3 separate regions of the Homo sapiens genome follow, and regions 1 and 3 are each linked to region 2. The links are contacts of gene promoters, found by promoter capture Hi-C in human tissues and cell types (Jung and others, 2019). All regions are on one chromosome and are shown on one strand. The core of a region is centred on a gene start or on the middle of the fragment in contact, and the rest is flanking DNA. Distances in the headings are between cores, read along the strand shown. Region 1 overlaps STK24 (serine/threonine kinase 24). Region 2 holds the start of GPR18 (G protein-coupled receptor 18). Region 3 overlaps STK24 (serine/threonine kinase 24).

Evidence for each region. Contacts are between HindIII fragments. The study calls those that stand out against the background at their distance.
Region 1: a fragment that was not itself captured here is called in contact with the fragment with the promoter of GPR18 in region 2 in 1 of the 25 tissues and cell types used here (dorsolateral prefrontal cortex).
Region 3: a contact is called between a fragment that was not itself captured here and the fragment with the promoter of GPR18 in region 2, in 1 of the 25 tissues and cell types used here (spleen).

The regions. Positions count from the first base shown.
Region 1 is chr13:98,460,391-98,463,090 of GRCh38, forward strand. It overlaps STK24 (serine/threonine kinase 24), which reads right to left. Exons shown (of 11, transcript NM_001032296.4): 8 at 1,384-1,507; 9 at 1-50. Among named protein-coding and RNA genes, the nearest start is that of FARP1-AS1, 26 kb to the left of the region's middle. The HindIII fragment of the contact is 4,293 bases long and covers 1-2,700 here.
Region 2 is chr13:99,257,083-99,259,782 of GRCh38, forward strand. GPR18 (G protein-coupled receptor 18) reads right to left here and starts at 1,297. Exons shown (of 2, transcript NM_001098200.2): 1 at 1,072-1,297. The region is part of intron 4 of UBAC2 (UBA domain containing 2); the gene reads left to right. LOC124903198 (a long non-coding RNA gene) reads right to left here. Exons shown (of 3, transcript XR_007063846.1): 3 at 1,357-1,504. The HindIII fragment of the contact is 6,968 bases long and covers 1,284-2,700 here.
Region 3 is chr13:98,486,882-98,489,581 of GRCh38, forward strand. All of the region lies in intron 2 of STK24 (serine/threonine kinase 24), which reads right to left. Among named protein-coding and RNA genes, the nearest start is that of FARP1-AS1, 52 kb to the left of the region's middle. The HindIII fragment of the contact is 3,535 bases long and covers 1-2,700 here.

The DNA of each region.
Region 1 (2,700 bases), core at 73-2,572, 800 kb before region 2:
ATAATTGTAGATAAACACTGAGAGAAAGGCCTCTTCGGGATGTCTTTCATCTTGGGGGAGAGGGAAAAAAAGGTCATCAGAAACAGTTGACGTTCACATTGGCAATAATTTAATAAACCTCCCACCTGGACTATGGAAGCGCAGGAGTTGCCTCTACACTTCACGCTGAGGAAACACCCTCTGCGCACCATAACATCTGAAGGAGACTATCGGCTGCCTCTCACTAGACTTCAAAGTTTCATCTGCAGTGACATGCAAAACCCACGCACCGGGGAAACCAGCATCTGGGTTCCATGTGGAAGGGGACTCTGTGTGGGCACAGGCGGTGAACTGCCTCGTCTTGCTATCTACGCAGAAGTGCTTTACTGGTTGGGCGTGGTGGCTCATGCCTGTCATTCCAACACTTTGGGAAGCCGAAGCAGGAGGATCACTTGAGCCCAAGAGTTCGAGACCAGCTTGGGCAACATAGTGAGACCATGTTTCTATTAAAAAAAAAAAAAGTTTTAAATAAACTGGGCGTGATGTCACATGCCTGCAATCCCAGTTACTCAGGAGGCTGAGGTGGGAGGATCACTTGAGCCCAGGAGTTTGAGGCTACAGTGAGCTCTGATGGCACCACTGCACTCCAGCCTGGGCAACAGAGACCCCGTCTCAAAAAAAAAAAAGAGAGAGAGAGAGAGAGAGAGAAAAGTACTTTACTAATGAAACCCTGGAAATAGAAATCAGGTCAAGATTGGCCATTCCAATGGCTGTCTAGGACAGAGACCGAGTTTCTACTTTTGCAACCTCTATTTGGACATTTAACACCTGTTCACTTATCAAAGCGGGACTTGTAGGATCAACAGGGGACAGCCACTGGCCCACCCTGCCTGAAAGAAACTACACCACTATGCTTTACAAGACCCTAAATATATGGCCTTTCATAAATTTAACAGGCATAAAACCAATTAATCAAAATTGTTTTACATAAATATCAAAAGCAATGCATTTACTTATAAGGTCCTTAAAACTCAGTCACAAAATTATGATATGTATGTAAGTAACCGCAACATGCACAACAGTCCCTCAGAGCTATGAAGTCATTTCACGGGTCACCCCCAAACCCCATGACATTGCCACATCGGGACATCCTAACTCAACAGCAGGGCTGCAGAGAGCAGAATAGAGTGGCACAAAACAGACCAGAGGCCAGACTCCCTGGTGTGAACACCTGGATCATCAGACAGAACTAAAGCTCTTCATCTGCCCATCCCCTAGCAACAAAATTCCAGGACAGCTGCCACAAAGGACCCCAGCCGCACCCACAGCAAGCTTCACACACAAGTGCCTCCAAAACACTGCAGACTGAGGTCAGCGTGGCCATTCTGGAGTGAGCAGACGTACCTTATTTCTGTCCAAGTCCGATGGCTGAAGAGCTCCATTCTCGAGATTCTTGGGATCTTTTTCTCGGATTGTGAAGATCCAGTCCCCAGAATCACTGCCCCCCGAGGCTTGGCCATCTGTTTCCCTTAACACAGAAATGCAGGAAATCCCATCAGTGCTCGCACACCTGCTCTGGGGGCGCTGGGACGTTCAGGGGGAGGCCGCCTGGGGACCTCTAAACCCACACCCACCAGCCCCAAGTCCCCACCCATCACACCCTTGTCCAGTCCCTCTGGGATTTCCCAAAGACCCCCCCGCCTCCTCCCTCACAGAGAAGAGACCATCGGGAGGTGGTTCCACAACTCCCTGGCGTGCCAGTGTGTGCATGCCCACCCTCCTCCTCCTCCCGGAGAACACCTCCCCCACCTCCCTGGGAGCCCATCTCTGGGACATCAGCTTCTCTCTGCTGGGCTCCTCCTCTCACCAGGGAAGCAGATGTCCCTGTGTTGGGTGTGGTGGCTCATGCCTGTCATTCCAACACTTTGGCCTCACCTTGGCCATCTCTCAGCCCTGGTTCTGGGATTCACACTCACTGCCTCTATTTGGTACCCTCCACTCGCTCCAAAGCCCACCCGTGTCCCTCCGAGCGCTCCCTCCCCCATCATGAGATGATGGTGTGCTGATCACTCCCTGTCCTGTATGGGCCTCAGAGGCAATGAGCCCCAGGCCCTGCTGATCATCCCCTGATGCCTGTGGCCCCATTAAGCCTGCACCTCCTCCCGCCCCTCGGCCATACCTCTCCCCTCTCACTCACAGGCGGAGCCTCACCCTCACACCTAGGGGCCAGCCTCACTCCCCCACATGCCCCAACTGACACCCTTTTTTCTCTCGGCTCAAGTGACCTCCACAGAGCAGTGGCCCCTAAGCCCGCTTCACCTGCCCAGCTTTCTCACCTGAACTCCACACCTCGGTGCCACTTCACACTGGACGTCTCTCCTGGACAACTCAGACTCACACACGGTTCACCCCACACTCGGCTTCCCGCACCACACATCACAACACCTGGTGCCACGCTGCCCCAGCCTGGAACATTGGCTTCCCTCCTTCACCCAAATCCACCGCCGCGTCCTGGCTCTCCAAACCTCTCTCCAGTCTCTTTCTCTTGTCATCCCTGTTGCTACCCCAGCAATCTCCCAATGGCAGTACCTCAAGAACTTCCGGGGGCAGTGGTCTCAACCTTGGCTTTAAACTGGAATCACCTAGAGACCCTGAAAAACCACTTAGGGTCTCATCCCCGGAAATCCTCATTCAACTGGCCTGGCACATGGACCTGCACTG
Region 2 (2,700 bases), core at 47-2,546:
CCTTTCCCTTCCCTTCCCTTCCCTTTCTTCCCTTCTTCTCCTTCTTTCCTTCTCAAATATTTAGGTTAAATATGATTTAGGAGCATAATTCTATATATTTAAAAACATATTAAATTTTCCAAATATTGGTGTGACTAGAATATTAATTTCTATCAAATGAGGAAAGTGCTACAGAGAAAAATTATATCTCTAGTGTCATTCAAAGGAGAGTAATCTTGGAGGCTTAAATCTTATTTTTAACTGGAATGCATTCTTATTAAATAGTAGCAATTATAATATAAATGAAATTTTGTATTTGTTTTTCTTTTTTTAGTATTGCATCAGGACTCCCTTCACCTATCCTCATCCTTCAATTTTGTGACATAAGTCCTGTACTTACAAACCATCTTGAGTCTTTTTTCCCACGTTATGCTCAAGCTGTTTTTATGTAGCTTGTCACCAATACTTATATTCATTTGCTGACGTTTGAAAAAAAATGAGTGATGCATGTGTTTTAAAGGCATTATAGTATTGATTGTGCTCTGCAAACACAGAAATTTTTGGATAAATATTGAAAAGTGATTGACTTTAAAGTCAGCTTTTTAAAAGCTATAGATACCATGATTATCTGTAGCTTTTCTTTTCTTAAAAACCATTAAGTTATTTCATGAAACAATGTAATTGAAAACATGTGATGAACATTCCTAAATATACATATGATTTACCATAAACATTTTCTTTCCTTAAGTTGAAAAAAATTACATTTAGTATTAATGTAAAGCAATATTGAAAATAAATGTAAAATCATATTAATGTGGAAAGATGATTATATAGCCTATTTCAAGGTCTTTCACCAACATAGTTTGTTATGTTTATTTTTTTAATTAAATATATTTTTTTAATAGAGACGGGGTCTCACTATGGTGCTCCTGGGCACAACTGATCCTCCTGCCTTGGCCTCCCAAAGTGTTGGAGTTACAGGCGTGGGCCATTGCGCCCAGCCTGTATTATTAAAATGAAATGATTTTTGAAATGCAGTACATAAAGCATTACTTTTGACAATAATCATGAAGTTAATTAAATGCTGCTTACCTCCTGTCCATCAAAAGTCTGTGTGAGAGATGAGCATTTTTCAGCACTTCCACTTCTGTCGAAGGGATATCTTTGAGTTGCTTCTGTTAAAATAGCTCTTTCTGGAAACAGTGTATTTAAGAAATGTTGTATTTTGTTTTAGACTCTTTTGTTGCTTTAAAAAGTAGTTTCCAGTGTAACGCTTGGCGTCGGAGTTGGTGCTGGGCTGACTTTAATTGCTGCTTTGTCTCTTTCAGGAAGTGCTCTCTGAAATAGGCTTTTTCACCTTATGACTTTACCCTGGATGTGGTTTTTCTCTTTCACAAATGATTTGTTTATGAAGTCACACTTAGCATAAGCTCCCCTTGAAATGATGGCATATATTTAAGATAATTATATACAAAGGATAAAGTTTCTTCAGTTTGTGTACTTTGATGCTTGAAGTCTGCATCATCTATGGAAAGAGAAGATTTGATATTGAGTAAAAGGGGGTTTAAAGTCTAGCTTCTTTGCTTTATAAGCTATGTGACTTTGTCTAGTTACCTACCCACTCTGACTAACCCTTTGTTCCTACTTCATTTCTGTACAGTTGAAATAGAGATAATACTATATCCAGTAGGATTGTAGGGGCCCTAAACCAGAAAGATCCCAAGTGCTTAATAGTACCTGGCACTTAGTAGGTACTCCTAAATGGAGTCTCACTTTTTACTACCAAGTTATTAAAAATCATAGAATATCCACATTTCCACTTTTTACTATTTAAACATTTCTAAATGCTTAAAAGTAGGATCCTTGATTAATTGCTTCTGCTTTGCCACATACATTTATCCACTTTAGTTTGCTGTATTTTGTAAGTCTGCTTTTCTAGTGCGTGGAAGTCTAGAAATAATTTCTTTTGCATAAAAATTTCTGCAAATCTTAGCAGAAAGGACTCTGAAGTCTTTAGTGGACTGATTTACATATTAAGAGTGTTTTCACCTAAGAAGGGAAATGAAACCAGCAGAAAGGGAAGTGAGCAACGAATCGCTGCCTGCCTTGTTAGGTTAATTTTGTTTTACTTTCTCATTTCTTAAAAAAAATTATCTCTCATTTGCTTATCCTAAAATTTTAATTATCTTTATGTTTGGTTATGCATGGTTTGTCAACTTTTTAAAGGGTTCATGAACTTAAATGTATTTGTTTTTTTGAATTTTAGACAGTTTGGGGTCCATCCTTTTTTTTTTTTTTCTCAGACAAAACCATAGTAAATCTGTGGCTTAGAAAAGTTACTTAAATCCTTGCCTTTGGTGATAAAATACTTTTGATTGTTACAACCTGCCAGAATGATGGGTTTTAGAAGTGTTGGAGACAACCATAGCAACTATTTCTTGTGTGGATGAAGAAATTGAAGGCCAGTTACTTGCTTAAGAACTCAAGGTAAAGCCAGGTCCAGTTTCTCCCGCTGTAATAACTTCTTATGAGGTAATTATATTGATCTGTCCACTAGATAGGACTTCTTATGGCTGAATCACATTCATCAGTTTTTTATATGTGATGTTATATTTCATTCATCACACAGGAGTTTGATGTTTCAGCTGGACAGAAATCTGCCTGCATGCAGACCTAATCTGTCCTTTGCCTTATTCACATAGCTTAGGACTTTTCTAAAAT
Region 3 (2,700 bases), core at 98-2,597, 770 kb before region 2:
TCCACAACAAGATGGGAATCAGATCGGTGCTTCCAACCTCACAGTTCCAAGTGACAATTAAATGAGATCATGAGTGGGAAAGCACTTGGCAAAATTCATGGTGCTCAACAGATGCAAAGTGCTATCAGCTTTATCAACATCATCACCCAGAAATGCCTCTGAATAACCTGGTAAAACCAAAAGGGCCCAATTAACAATTCTAAGTAGTTTCTAAGCAAAATGAAGCCTGGTACAATGATTCACGTATTCTGCACCAGAGGCCTCATGGCAGGAGCGTCTGAGTGGCAGCCTGTTCTCCGGGAAGGACCCAGCTCTGTCCTGCAGATGTGGAACCACTGTCCTCATAAAACCTTCCAAACCATGACTTCTGAGGCACTCATTCCCCAAGAAAAATAAACCAGCAGGCTTCTCAACACAATGATGACTTTAATCGAAATAATTTCATGTTTTTTCAACAACCTCAAATAACCTAAGTTATGAATGACCTCGTGATACAATTTTCTCATCAGGGAAATAAAAGTATTCATTTAATTAATAAATTCTGGAGTGAAAATTTAAAAGGTGCCAAAGTATATACAGTGAGAAGTCTCCCTCCCACCCTGGGCCCCCATTACCCAGCAAACCAACCGTCCCTGCCCCAGCAAGTCATCACGACATCTAATGTAACCTCAGAGAAAAATAGTTATGCACATACGAGCAAATACCTACAAAACTTTACCCCCCTTTTACCCAAACGGTGGCATTCTACACACACTGTTGTTTACCTTGCTTTTTACCTAAAGTTTCTTAAAGAGCAGTCCATATGTAAAGGACTTCCTCATTTTTTTAACCATAATTAGCCCATGCCTTATTGAGCTCACATTGTTTCCATTTTTCGCTCTGACGGCCCAGGTGTCAAGGAAGAGCTGTACATTTGTCAGTTTTGCTGGGTCCTGGAAGCAGACCTGCTGGGTGAAGGGACTCCATCTGAATTTTTAACAGATACTGACAAGTGACCCTCCAAAGAGGCTGTCCCATATATGGCCTCAGCAGTGTCTGAGGGTGCTAATTTCCCCCTTTCCCATGCCACAGTGTCATCAAGTTTTATTTTATTATTATTTTTTGGTCATTTTTATGGACTGAATTGTGCTTCCCTCTCCCACACACCCACGATTCACATGTTGGAGTCCCAATTCCCAACACTGCAGAATGTGACTCTTTAAAGAGGTGACTGAGTTGCAATGAGCTCATTAGGGTGGGCCCTGATCCAATACGGCTGGTGTCATAAAAAGAGATGAAGACACACACACACACACACACACACACACACACACACACACACACACGGGAAGACCACATGAGCACACAGGGAGAAGACGGTCATCCACAAGCCAAGGGGAGAGGCCTCCCAAGAAACCACCCTACCAACATCTTTCCAGGTTTATTAGCAAACGAATTCCTGCTGAAGGCTCCCAGTCTGCGCTACTTCGTTCTGGCAGCCCCAGCAAATTAAGCCAGTTATTCATTCATACACAAAGGATGCTTCAGGGGAGTTTTATTTATCTTTCTCCTATTGTAAGGCTGAACATCTTTATATATTGAAGAGTCATGCATATTTTCTTTCCTGTGAGCTGTGTATATCCTTTGTCCATTTTTCTATTGGGTTACTGACCTTTTTTTTAAAGTAGGAGTTTTTAACATATTGGGAAAGTTCGCCTTCTGTAATAGGAGCTGCAAACACTAGCTTTTGCTTCTGGTAATTTTTGCTTACAGAAATTAATTTAATATAGACATACTATCAATAACCATAGCACTTCCAGGCAAACTTGCCCCAAAGTATTTGGAAGTGCCTCCTAAGAACCCGGAATCATTGACCGGAACCAGGGCCCCCACATTAACAACTCTCACAGGAGCTTGGCAGAGGTCACACGAACCCACCAAGGTTAAAAAAAAAGACAAACGAGAAAGGGCAGATGCTACACAGCTAACAGTGAAGATTTTAAAACAGGAATTCGAAACTGCAACTCTGCTCTGCACCTGAAATGCCCTTGGCAGCCTCCACATTTCACCAGCTGTAACCAAAGGCCAAGACCAAGAGGTATAAACAATGCAGCGGGCTTTATTAAAATCACACGGGGTCACAGACTTCCTTAAGAGCGTGAGTTTTTGTAAAAGGTACCTTTCCGCGCAGATGACGCATGTGGCCTCAAAGCCTTAAGGCCTGGTTTGCATCCAGGCTCAGGCCAGCTCTGATGGCAACTACAACAAGGCCTCGCCTATGAGCCTCCACTTCCCATTGCCCCCGGGACTAATGTGCATGCTCCTCAGAGGGGCTTCGATGATGATGAAGTGAGGCCGTGTACACAGCAAGACTCATCAACTTGAACCACTATTACTGTGTTAACTCCACAGTGTCCTCTGTCTGAACTGCAGGCTTGCGAACCCGGAAGAAATCCAAGCCTGTTGCCTATTTTACCTTCAGAGCAGCCCCTGACCATCTTCAAAGTGCAGGAACCATTCCTGAGCTGGAAAAGCTTATGTGGTTGTTCCTCAGGCTCACAGACGCTAGGATTTCTTAACTGATTCATCTAACACATAACATACCTACTAGGTACCCAGGGTGGCTGAGGGGGAACGCAGAGTGAGTAACACCCTGGCTCTGGCTTTCAGGAACTTCTAATGACAGAAAAGTGGGCAAATAATTAGCATCAGACAGCCAGT